2 separate regions of the Homo sapiens genome follow, and region 2 is linked to region 1. Evidence: promoter capture Hi-C in human tissues and cell types (Jung and others, 2019). All regions are on one chromosome and are shown on one strand. Each heading gives the region's core, a stretch centred on a gene start or on the middle of the fragment in contact. The rest is flanking DNA. Distances are from core to core; before and after follow the strand shown.

What was found. Contacts are between HindIII fragments. The study calls those that stand out against the background at their distance.
Region 2: a fragment that was not itself captured here is called in contact with the fragment with the promoter of SLC19A3 in region 1 in 1 of the 25 tissues and cell types used here (aorta).

What each region holds. Positions count from the first base shown.
Region 1 is chr2:227,715,201-227,721,671 of GRCh38, reverse strand. SLC19A3 (solute carrier family 19 member 3) reads left to right here and starts at 3,644. Exons shown (of 6, transcript NM_025243.4): 1 at 3,644-3,729. RefSeq lists an enhancer at 3,227-4,113. The HindIII fragment of the contact is 9,813 bases long and covers 911-6,471 here.
Region 2 is chr2:227,473,509-227,480,035 of GRCh38, reverse strand. The region is part of intron 1 of AGFG1 (ArfGAP with FG repeats 1); the gene reads right to left. Among named protein-coding and RNA genes, the nearest start is that of AGFG1, 4.6 kb to the right of the region's middle. The HindIII fragment of the contact is 5,033 bases long and covers 1-4,980 here.

The DNA.
Region 1 (6,471 bases), core at 2,395-4,894:
AGGCGGGCAGATCACCTGAGGTCAGGAGTTTGAGACTAGCCTGACTAACATGGTGAAACCCTGTCTCTACTAAAAATACAAAAATTAGCTGGCCGTAGTGGCAGGTGCGTGTAATCCCAGCTACTCGGGAGGCTGAGGCAGGAGAATCCCCTGAACCCAGGAGGCAGAGGTTGCAGTGAGCCAAGATCGACCCATTACACTACAGCCTGGGCAACACAGTGAGACTCCATCTCAAAAAAAAAAAAAAAAAAAAACTAAACAAATATTTGCCTTCAAAGAGTTAACATTTAAGAGTGAAACAGATAAATTAGCCTACTTGCAGTAATCCTAATGTGAGATTTTCTTTGCCTGGCCACCTTTTCTCCACTCCTATATCAACTATTCAAATAGACTTTTTTTTTTTTTTTTTTTTTTTTTTGAGACAGAGTCTCACTCTGTCACCCAGGCTGGAGTGCAGTGGCGTGATCTCGGCTCACTGCAACCTCCACCTCCTGGGTTCAAGCGATTCTTCTGCCTCAGCCTCCCAAGTAGCTGGGATTACAGGGGTGTGCCGCCACGCCTGGCTAATTTTTGCATTTTTCGTAGAGATGGGGTTTCGCCATGTTGGCCAGGCTAGTCTCGAACTCCTGACCTCAGGTGATCTACTCACCTGGGATTACAGGCGTGAGCTACCATGCCTGGCCTTGTATAGGTTTTCATGGACATAATTGCAGCCACATTTTTTAGTAACAGTGCAAGAGGAAGTATAATAGGGAGGTACACAGTGTTGAGCAACTCCCTAATACACTATGGCTCCCTCTCCTACTGTTCTCATTCAGCCTCCCTGTAGGTTCTTTCCCAAGTTGGAGCTCCAAGCCTCAGGCTTAGTCATCTTCTCCATCCTCTTCTCAGTGGGATCCACGGCACTTACCACTTTCTAACACACTATAAAATTCACTAACTCATCATGTTTACTATTTATGTTCCCTCTATATACCCCATCCCAAGCTAGAATGTAAATTACAAGGCAGAGATTTTTAGCTTTGTTCACGAATGTATCCCAAGCACCTAGGACAGTGTCTGGCACATAGTTACTCAATAAATAACTTCTTAATGAACAAATGATTTTTTTTTCTTTTTTGTGTATGGGTTTATTTGAGACAGGGTCTGGCTCTGTCACTCAGGCTGGAGTGCAATGGTGTGATCTCAGCTCATTGCAACCTCCACCTCTTTAGGCTCAAGCCAATCTCCCACTTCAGCCTCCCAAGTAGCTGGGACTACAGACGCATGCTACCACGTCTGGGTAATTTTTGTATTTTTGTAGAGACAGGGTCTCACTGTGTTGCCCAGGCTGGTCTTGAACTCCTGGGCTCAAGCGATGCACCCACCTCGGCTCCCCAAAGTGCTATATTACAGGCATTAGCCACTGTGCCCAGTCAGAATAAATGATTTTAAAACAATTTTGTATTATGGAAAATAAACATATACAAAAATGGAAAATAGTGCAATCAGTTTCTAAGAACTACTGCCCAAGTCAACAATAATCAACACACAGCCAATCTTTTGTCATCTATGACCCCATCCACAGCCTTCTCCCCACACAGTCGTATGGGATCAAACTCAAATGTCATGTCATGTAATCTGCAAATGTGTCATTTATGTTTCTATGCATGAATGAATGAATTCCTCAATATCTCTCTCTGATTTAGACTGTGGCTATGAGATATTAGAGAATCAGAGTAAACTTCTCAAGGTCCAATTTGAACTCATTTTCTTCAAGAGGTGTGAAGGAAATCATGACACCTTCAGCCTTTAAGAAAATTTCACAATATTCTTTGGGAGGACCCAGCAATTTGCAAGGTTGCACAATGAGCAGGGCACTCCTACACCTAAGGTTCAGCTCAGGACTTTTCACAAATCATAGGAAGATGAAAATAGAAAACGCAGAGTCGTAGGACAGAGAACCAAGACACCTCGGGGTGTTTTAATCCATTTCACTTCCACTGGTAGCCCTTAGAAGCCACGCAGTGTTTATCTTTAGGGAGGGTTTTTCAAGTCCACCAAGAGATGAACAGAAATAAAAATATTTTTTCCATTTTAACCAATAAGAACCTTGTAATGCTTTAAAAAAATTCTCTGTTTAATAAGAAGTTTCACTTTAATATATAAACTCTTTGCAGGCTAAGCGTAGTGGCTCATGCCTGTAATCCCAACACTTTGGGCGGGCAAGGCAGGAGGATCCTTTGAGCCCAGGAGTTCAAGACCAGCCTGGGCAAGATAGTGAGACTCTGTCTCTACCAAAAAAAAAAAACAAAAAAATTAATGTGACGTGGTGGCACCCACCTGCAAGCCCAGCTACTTGGGAGGCTGAGGCAGGAGGATCAGTGTGCCTGGGAGATTGAGGTTGCAGTGAGCTGGGGTTGCACCACTGCACTCCAGCCTGGGAGATAAAGTGAGACTTTGTCAAAAAAAAAAAAAAAAGAAAGAAAGAAAGAGAAAAGAAAAGAAAAGAGGCCAGGTGGCCGGGTGCTGTGGCTCACACCTGTAATCCTAGCACTTTGGGAGGCCGAGGCGGGTGGATCACCTGAGGTCAGGAGTTTGAGACCAGCCTGGACAACATGGTGAAACCCCATCTCTACTAAAAATACAAAAATTAGCTGGGTGTGGTGACGGGCGCCTGTAATCCCAGCTACTAGGGAGGCTGAGGCAGAAGAATTGCTGGAACCCGGGAGGTGGAGGTTGCAGTGAGCCAAGATCGTGCCATTGCACTCCAGCCCGGGGCCAACAACAGCGAGGCTCCATCTCAAAAAAAAAAAGAAAGAAAGAAAGAAAGAAAAAAGACCAGGCGCGGTGGCTCACGCCTGTAATCTCAGCACTTTGAGAGGCCGAGGCAGGCGGATCACGAGGCCAGGAGTTCGAGATGAGCCTGGCCAATATGGTGAAACCAAACCCCGTCTCTACTAAAAACACAAAAATTAACTGGGCGTTAATTTTTGGAGGCTGAGGCAGGAGAATCGCTTGAACCCGGGAGGCGGAGGGTTGTAGTGAGCCGAGATCGCGCCACTGCACTCCATCCTGGGCGACAGAGGGAGACTCTGTCTCAAAAAAAAAAAAAAGAAAGAAAGAAAAGAGAAAAGAAAAGAAAAAGAAGAAGAAAAGAAAAAATTGTTTGTATCAGATTTTCAAAGTGCCAGGAAACCATCCCACTCTACCTCCTTTAAAAAAAAAAAGTGCAGAGTGATTATAACCACTGGCTCTGGAGCCAGGAGCCCCAACTAAAACCCAGGCTTCTCTATTTACTAGGCCTACTTCCTTCCGCCTCACTTTCTTCATGTGTAGAGTGGGGGTGACAGCCAGCCAGCCCTCTCTCCTAAGCTTTTGGAGAGAAATAAATGGATTCATAAGAAAGGACATATTTGTAAATAAAGCAAACGATCGCTGTTGGATTCAGGCCCTCTTGCTTCATTATGCTGAATGTCAGTGTATTACTTAAGTTGTTCCTTTCAGCAGAGTTGACTGTTTCTGCCCAGAAAACCGGCCCTGGGCCAGGAAAATCTGGGCTTCCACACTGGGATGAAAGGTCTGGACGCCCGGATTCGCATATGCAAAGCGTGGGGGCGTGGCCCCGGGCTCCGGGCCAGGCAGGCTCCGCCCCCTTCCCACCAAGAGCGCCTGGATCCATCCGACAGCCGCGGGTGCGTGGTCGTGCGGCAAGTGAGCGATTTGGTGAACAGACACTCCCTTCTGTAGGTAAGAATATCTCGGGGGGCGAATTAATTGAAGAAGCACCGTCATCCCTCGGTCTTAGCAGTGTCGCCTCTCTCTTCCCGGGTTTGGAGAGCTGGGGGCGGGTTCCTGGCTCTGCGGGCCTGGGCTACACTCTGAGCCGCGTGAGGAGCTCTCCCCCTACGCCGCAGCCCGCGTGCTGGGATTCACCCAAGTGGGTTTGTCTGGAATTCCCATTTGCAGCCTTCTGGAAGCGCAGATTAAATAAAATCATGATTCCCGTAAAGTGCCAGCACCTCCTATGGTTACATCCCACGTTCACAGATTTTAACTGAAAAGGCATTTTAGCATAGAATTCCAAATTCCAATCCAAGGATGGAGAAAAGGTCCTTCCTAGTGGGAAAAAGGAAGGTGAGTTTGAATTTAAGAGAGCAGGGGCTTTTTTGGGAACCACTTGAAATTTAGTTAATTGAAACTAAAAGAAAACGCAACTACACCTTACAAAAACACTGCTGGAAAGGATACCTAAGTCATCAAATAATAAATAGTGTGACAGCTGTTTACCAAATCAATGTCGCTGCCGCAAATGTGCAAAAGGTTGGGACTTTCGGAGTGCTTCAAGTTTGAAAAAGGTAAAGGAATAATGTTTTCTAAAAGTACTCTCAGGCCAGGCGCAGTGGCTCACGCCTGTAATCCCAGCACTTTGGGAGGCTGAGCGGGGCGGATTGCTTGAGGTCAGGAATTCGAGACCAGCTTGGCCCTGGGATGAAACCCCGTCTCTACTAAAAAGGCAAAAATTAGCCGGGCATGGTGGCGGGTGCCTGTAATCCCAGCTACACTGGAGGCTGAGGCTGAAGAATGGCTTGAACTTGGGAGGCGAAGGTTGCAGTGAGCCAAGATTGCACCACTGCACTCCAGCCTGGGCGACCCAGCAAGATTCTGCCTCAAAAAAAAAAAAAAAAAAAAAAAAAAAGCACTCTCATGTGTTTTGCTCCTATCAATATTGAAACATTGGTGTCTCCTGTGGCAAAAGGTGTTTTTTTCATCGAGGCACATATATTAAATAGACCAAAACATAACTTCCCAAATATCTTATAAGATTATCCTAGTAGTAGCTGAAATGGACAAAAATACCAATTTCCTTCAGTCATTATTGCTAATAGACCAACAACACTCTTTTAAGGTTGTGTAATGGTAAATGCATACACATTTATTTAACATGCACACAGGGAGAATCAGAGTGATTGATTACCCACCCTGCAACATGTCTCAGAAGCTTATAGACTACCCTGGCAAATGAGGTTACGGGAGGGAGCCGAAGAGCATCCAGCAGAAGTGGATGGGCTTCTGCTAGGGAGCATGAATGGGTCAGGGGAGAGAATAAGCTACATTATCTTGTGAATGGGTCTGTTCAGGTGTGGGGTATATTCTTGGTCTTACAGGGAAGGGAAAAGAAACAGTTGTTCCTTTTGGTGGGTCTGGATCTTAGGCAGACAAAGGTTTTTTTGAGCTGGGAGCCGGGAAGGTCAGAGAGACCTTGAGGTCTCCAGCATGTCAAAGCCCCATATTTTGGGGTATCGGCTTCTGAGTCCCGGCACTTATTAGTGACGAAACTGATGAGTCTGTAGTAGCCAGATCAAAGAAGAACCCAAAGAATGGGTACATTCGTAGATCAGGAATATTGAATAATGAAATATAGATCAGGAATATTGAAACTGGTTTTCCATGGGGGAAAGGAAGACTGTTGTCCTTCATGGGATAAACCTTATTTGCATGTCTATAGACAATAATTACTTAACATTGCCATCAGTTGTTAAAATTTACAGAGTTGTAAAATAGCTCAAATGACCTCTAATTTTTCTTTAATCCAGTTTTTTCCCTACAACACCACCTTCTCTCAGTGCATTTAATCAGAAACTTTCACTGCATCTCAAGGATTAGATGTCAGCTGACTTTCCTTTTTTGTTTTGTTTTGTTTGGGGTTTTTGAAATTTTTTTTTTTTTTTTTTTTTTTTGAGACGGAGTCTCGCTCTTGTTGCCCAGGCTGGAGTGCAGTGGCTGGGATCTCGGCTCACCGCAGCCTTGACTTTCCCTGTTCAAGCAATCTTCCCACTTCAGTCTCCCAACTACCTGGCACTATAGGCACACACCACCATGCCTAGCTAATTTTTGTATTTTTTATAGAGGTGAGGTCTCGCTATTTTGCCCAGGCTGGGCTCAGTTGACTTTCTAAGCCGTTTTATGTTTTTCTTAGTTTTATGGTTTTCTTAGGCATATTCCTCCTGCTCTCCCTAAGACTAGATTGATCTGAACATAGACATAACAGAATAAACAGAATTTGGAAGGAAATGATTAATTTACCAGCAAACACCTCATGCAAATTAAAAGGAATGGTACCATATATGATAAAATAAAATCTGAAGCATCTTAAAGATCACTTGGGCTGGGTGCGGTGGCTCACACCTGTAATCCCAGCACTTTGGGAGGCCAAGGCAGGCGGATTTCTTGAGGCCAGGAGTTCAAGAGTAGCCTGGCCAACATGGCAAAGCCCCATCTTTACTAAAAATAAAATTTTAAAAATATCACTTGTTTCTGCTCTTACAAAAACAAACAACAGAACTATTCTGGCCCACATACTGAATATCTGGGTCTAGTTTACGTCTTTGGAAGTTGTGTGGCATGCTTTATTTCAGCAAAGATTTTTTTTTGGGGGGGGTGTGGGGTTTGACATAAAGGATTATAGATGGGTGATAAGGCTACTTTGTA
Region 2 (6,527 bases), core at 1,215-3,714, 240 kb after region 1:
AGGTATAATTATGACCTCTACAAAACATGTATGGTGTCAATCAAAAAGATTGCTATCTTAGTCAGAAGTCTTTGAGCAAAGTATGTTCTAACACAAACAAAAATTAATTCTCTGTATTTCAAACAACTCAAATAAGTTTCCTGTCCCCACTGAATAGCTCATGAATTTCATTCTAATGTTCAATCAGGTGTCTTTAGCAATAGTTCTCGTGTGTAAGGTTGTAAAAAATGTCACAAGGAACATGCTATTAATGTAAGTACTCAAAGTTATAACTGATTTTAAAACGTTTTTACATACATTAAAGGTATCCAAGTTGTATTTCCCTAGACAATCATCACTTTGATTTGAATTAGAAAACACATTCAAGTGGGGGAAAAAATGAGGGGGAGTAGTAAAACCTAGTCCCGAATATTTCCATAGGAGTTTCTCACAAATGTGAACATCATGCACGCTGCACAGAAAAGAAGGAAAATATCAAATAAGGAGATTTGCCTGTTTTCCAAAGAATGCTATTGGAACAGATACAGAGGTTTCTAAAAAGACAATGATTTTCAAATTGAGATCCAGAGGTCGGCAAGTTCTTTTAAAACAATGTCTTAATTCTTTTCATTTATAATGCACTAATATTATAAAATTTAATGTAAATTTAATCTAAACTGTATTTTATCCACTTTGAAACTAAAAGCCAGTGTTTAAAAATCACATGCCAAAAATGATGGATGAATGAATAGGGAACAGAAAAAGGCTTAACATGGCAATAATGCCTTTATACTCAGTTATGGTCAAATGATGTCACCACAACCTGAATGCTGGAGTTTTCCCAGTATAAAAGGTACCCACAGCACTATACAGAAGAGTCCTTCTTATCCAATTTGCTGGTTAAATCTATGTTTCTCCTTCCCTCTGAGAAACCTAAAGTTAATGCCTACTGCACAATGAACATTCATGGCTAGAAGGCCACTTTCTCCTGCTCCTCTCTCAGGAGAGAGTGAGTTTTATGCTTATCAAAATTTGTCTGGTATAGTATTTGGTAATATAGTTGGTACAGTACTTGGTAAGTATATAGTTTAAGTGAATGTCATGTAAAACAATGGCATGAGTGAGAAGAATTATTTCCATGTAAACTAAGTATTTTTAGAGACTAAAACAAGTCACTAGGATAAGCTGTTATTTGACCATGGAAAAGAACTGTAAAAGACTGAGAGAAAAATCATAAAAATCTAGAAGAATTCAGCATTCAAACTGTTTTATAAGTACATTAAAATGCTAAAAATCATAAATAGTACAGCATGAGTCTGGGTTATATTAGGGGACAAAGAATCTAATCAGTGGACCCATATTCAAAGCCTTATGTGCCAGCAAATTAACAGTTGTATGTTAAAATTTAAAAACCTAAGCTTGAGGCAGGGCATGGTAATTCACGCCTGTAATCCCCACAATTTGGAAGACCAAGGTAGGAGGATTGCTTGAGCCAGGAGTTGGAGATCAGCCTGGGCAACATGGCGAAACCCCATCTCTACAAAAATTAGCTGGGCATGGTGGCACGCGCCTGTAGTCCCAGGTACCTGGGAAGCTGAGGTCGGAGGATCACCTAAGCCTGGGGAGGTCAAGGCTGCAGTGAACCATGATAATGCCACTGCACTCCAGCCTGGGCGACAGAGTGAGACCCTGTCTCAAACCAACAACAAAACCCAAACAAACAAAAAAACCTATGCTTGCTAAATATATATATTATATATGTATATATAATAGATACATGTATATGTATGTGTGCATGTATGTATTTTTTTTTTTTTACTGATTGCTTGCTTTAACTGAATTTTTTGATAAACTTATCCACTATCAAACTTGACTGCATACAATGAGGGGTTCTAATTAGAATTCAAATATAAAAAATAGCACGAGAATTACGGCACATGGTAGTATGCACATGCCAAATTGAAAAGAATCGCTGTTGGAACGGCACCATCATTCCCATTGATTTCAGAATACACAACAGTATTTTCTCAATGAAACTCAAAAATAAGAACACACATTTTGGAGCTAAGAAGTTCCCTAAAAATAATAAAAAGCATGACACAGCCATAAAACAAACATTTATGATGCATCATAAAATATCTATTCTGGGCTGGGCATGGTGGCTCATGCTTGTAATCCAAGCACTTTGGGAGGCCGAGGTAGGTGGATCACCTGAGGTCAGAAGTTCAAGACCAGCCTGGCCAACATGGTGAAACCCCATCTCTACTAAAAATACAAAAAAAATTTAGCCAGGCATGGTGGTGCATGCCTGTAATCCCAGCTGCTTGGGAGGCTGAGGCAGGAGAGTCGCTTGAACCTGGGAGGTGGAGGTTGCAGTGAGGTGAGATCGCACCACTGCACTCCAGCCTGGGTGACGAGTGAAACTCCGTCTCAAAAAATAAAAACAAAAAAAAGAAAAAGTCTTTTTTCTGCCATTTGAAACACAATGAAGTAAAATCTACCATTTAAATCCCCAAAATATAGAATTCACAACAATTTACGGTAACCATGGTAACCATACATTCTTTGGTGGTGGAATCAGCATCAGTTCCAGATCCCAACTTCTAGCAGGTTATAACAGCAAAACACTAAGAGTGTGCACTAATTTTACAACTTAAAGTTGAGCTTGGATAATAGTACCTTCCTCACATCACTGTTACTAGAATGTCTGTCACACAGCTAGCACTCAATAGTTTTTTCTTTTTTTTCAATAAATACTTTAACTGTTGTATCTCCAGCACATGGGCTAGTATCTGGCACTTAATAAATATTTGCTTAAAATAAAAAATTTGTCCTTCACAATTGAAAAAGTATCTAGGCCAGGCGAGGTGGCTCATGCCTGTAATTCCAGCACTTTGAGAGGCCAAGGCGGTGGATCACCTGAGGTCAGGAGTTTAAGACGAGCCTGGCCAACATGGCGAAACCCAGTCTCTACTATAAATACAAAAACTAGCCGGGCATGGTGGCGGGCGCCTGTAATCCCAGCTACTTGGGAGGCTGAGGCAGGAGAATGGCTTGAACCCGGGAGACAGAGGTTGCAGTGAGCCGTGATCGTACCACTGCACTCCAGCCTGGGTGACGGAGTGAGACTATGTCTCAAAAAAAAAAAAAAAAGAGAGAGAGAGAAAGTATAAAATATTTTGGCCACTTACTCTAAATACTTAACTGAATGTGGCCATATCAGAGTATCCAAAAAAAGTAAAAAAGGAATTAAGAATATAAATCCCTGCTCACTGTGACCTCACAAGGTCCTGAATATTATACACAGAGCTCCAAAAGAGCATCTGATTTGCAATCCATCCTAATGCTACTAATTGTATAAAAACATTAAATACCTCTTTTCATCTGTCATCTAAAAAAAATTAAAATTCTTGTAACATTCATCTCAAGAGTCAATGTACACAGAATCAACAGAATATAAGTTACTATCCAGCTACATTTATTACCTGTGAAATTTCAAGCTTAAATGCACTGTCCACATAAAATAGATGGTATTAAAGTGGCAACCTCTTTCTCAAATGTTATTTTTTATTTTATCTAAACCCTCACTGAAAAATTTATGGATCACTTTTTAAGGCTAGGACAATCTTTTATATTACATATCAATTATACTAATGTTTATAGTCTCCATAAAACAAATAATTTAGTCTAAAACTAGTCTTTAAATCAACTAGAAGTTATTTAACATGAAGGCCATTTTTACTGTTGGCTATATTTTAAATGTCTGAAGTGTCCATTCAGAATTTTAGGGATTTCCATAAATACAACCAGAAAGACAGTGAAAGATAGTGACAAACCAATCAGTTAGGATGCCTTCATCATTCTGCCTCAGTAACAAATAGTTTAACTGCATCTAACTCTGAAGTTCATTTTAAAGTTTTACAATCTAAATTCAGTTACACTCTGAATGAACATCATTCAAGCATATAGGACAGTCATCTGAAAAAAAAGAAACAAGAAAGATTAGCTCCAAGTCTAGTAACATTAACAACAAGATGCTAGTTCAATTTATTTTAAAAAAAGGTATTAGTATAAATGATAGAAGGTATGTCACTATCCTAAAATTTAGAATTCATGATAGTGGATACTATTTGCTATGTATTCATATTTTCCAGGTAAATCAAGGAACGGCAGCTAGCATGCCTTATTTCAATATTTGTAACTCCAGTGCTTAGCCCTATCCTCAAATACGGTATGTGCTCAATAAGTAAATACAGTAACGATGTGTATCATTGAATCCTCTTAACAACCCTGAGCTATATGATATCTTCTTAACATAAATAAAGAAACTGAGGCTACAAGGATGGATCTGGGCCAATCTGCATGTAGTGGCCTAGCATAACACCTTGCCCTAAGCCACGAAGCTAGTAGCATTGTCAAAATCTGACTTCAAAATTCATATTCTTTCAATTATACCATGTCATCTAAACATCAGATACATAATTATTAAACCCAAGAGTTATATTATTCTTCCTAAATTATTTTCCTGCACTATTGCTTGTCAAAGAAAAAAATCTTCAGAAGCTATTGTCCCTCCAACGTTCTGCAGTAGACATTTGATGGTTGCCACTCTAGTCTTCATTCCCTACATCCCAAGAATTCTAGATTTCAGATTTGGGAACTCTATTTGGGGATCCTTGTGACAATGAAGTCAGGTTAGAACATGTGTCCAGTTGTGGCATGATCTAAGCTAACCCAATCAGAGGGAAATGCAGAACTTCTGAAAGTATTGGACCAACGACATAATTAAGGCAGTATACCCAGGAGCTGGGGACAACCATGCTCGAATGAGGAAAATCTAGGCAATATTATTAAGCCACTGTATAGTTTTACTTTAAAATCAATCAATAAACCCTTCATATTTTTAAACCAATTAGATTCCGGTTTTGAGTTACAACCATAAAATCCAAAGTGACAGATTTTTATTAGGATATTTCTTATTTAATATCTTTCACATACAGTACTGTTCCCTTACTCATGGCATGTCCTCTTCCTTGATGCTTCTCATCTATAGGGCACTTGCTATATACCAGGCATTACGTGAGATGTTTAACATACATTATTTTTAATACTGAAAACAAATCTACATCCAAAACTTACAAGGGAAATCTTATCCTCACTGTTTCATATAAGAGAAAAATCAAGCTCAAATAGATTGAGTGACATTCTCAATACCGTATAACTAATACTTGGAGTCAGGATTCAAAGCCATGTGTACCTAGCTCATAAGTACTTGATCTTTCAAACATATGAAGCAGAATTTCTCGTTAAAGGTCTTTGCTCAGGCATCAACTCCCAGAGAAGCTGTATCATTTACATATTTCCTGGCTATCTCATTCACAGAAAGGAAATACTACAATATATTGTAACTCTACGTTTACATACTTACAAGGCACGCTCCATAGAACAGTTAAGATCCAGGTAACTTATGACACAGGACAAGTAGGCAATAAATATTTGTGGAATGACTCAATAGAGAAATGAAGTCCTATCTGCCACAGATTAAGTTCCATTAAGATAAATAATTGTCATTATACTGAGATATCCTTTTATGCACAATGTTTCTGAAATGTGGTATCTAGGAAGAAATTTGAAAATATGTCCTTGATATTACACATTTGCTGCTGTACTTACAGGGACTACACAGAAATGTCAGAAATCCGGAAGTGTAAATATATGTATTTTTTCCAAATCAAATACTTTACATGGATTAAAGGACCTGTGTTTAGTAAAAGCAGGACATACATCTTAACCATGTAATAAAAATCAAATACAATTACAATTGTTCTATTGGCTTCATTTTGGAACCAATATTGTCCAACGTAAGTAACAACTTTCTAGCTTAACTCCTTTTTCTGTAAATGAAATGCATGAACCAGGCTACCTCCTTGATATCACCTAGCTCTGTGATTCTGTAGTAATTCGAGAATATTATTAACTGGCAACTTCTCAGAGTGTCTCCCTGGCCACACAGCCTAAAAGTAACCATGAGCACTCTCCTATCAAACAATTTTCATGTTCAGCATAGTACTTGCCCAAGACATTTTTCTTACTTTTGCATCCCCACTGGACTGTAAGAACCAAGAGAACAAGACTTTGCTATATTTACTGGCACACCCCAGGGCCTTACACAACCTAATAGGCACCAAAAAAAATGTCTGCTGAAGAAATAACACTCATGTAATACTAATAATGCCTCTTTGCCCAACTTTAAAAAGCAAATAGTACATACTAGACATGTTCTGCATTTTCTAAGTTTTAAGAAATCAATTTTCCCACATAAAGTATTATGTGCTTTGTATTAATCTTACAAGCAAAGGTTTTAAAAATACTTAGTAACTGCCACGTTGTTAGTAACTTTAAATACAAGATAATAATATAAAAGCATTTTATCAATTCCAAAACCACCTGCAAATTTTCCGAATGAAATTGCACGGCAATAAAAATCTTTATCAAAATAAAGCTTAATGAAGCAAAGAACAACAAACACAAATCATCCCAGTAACTCA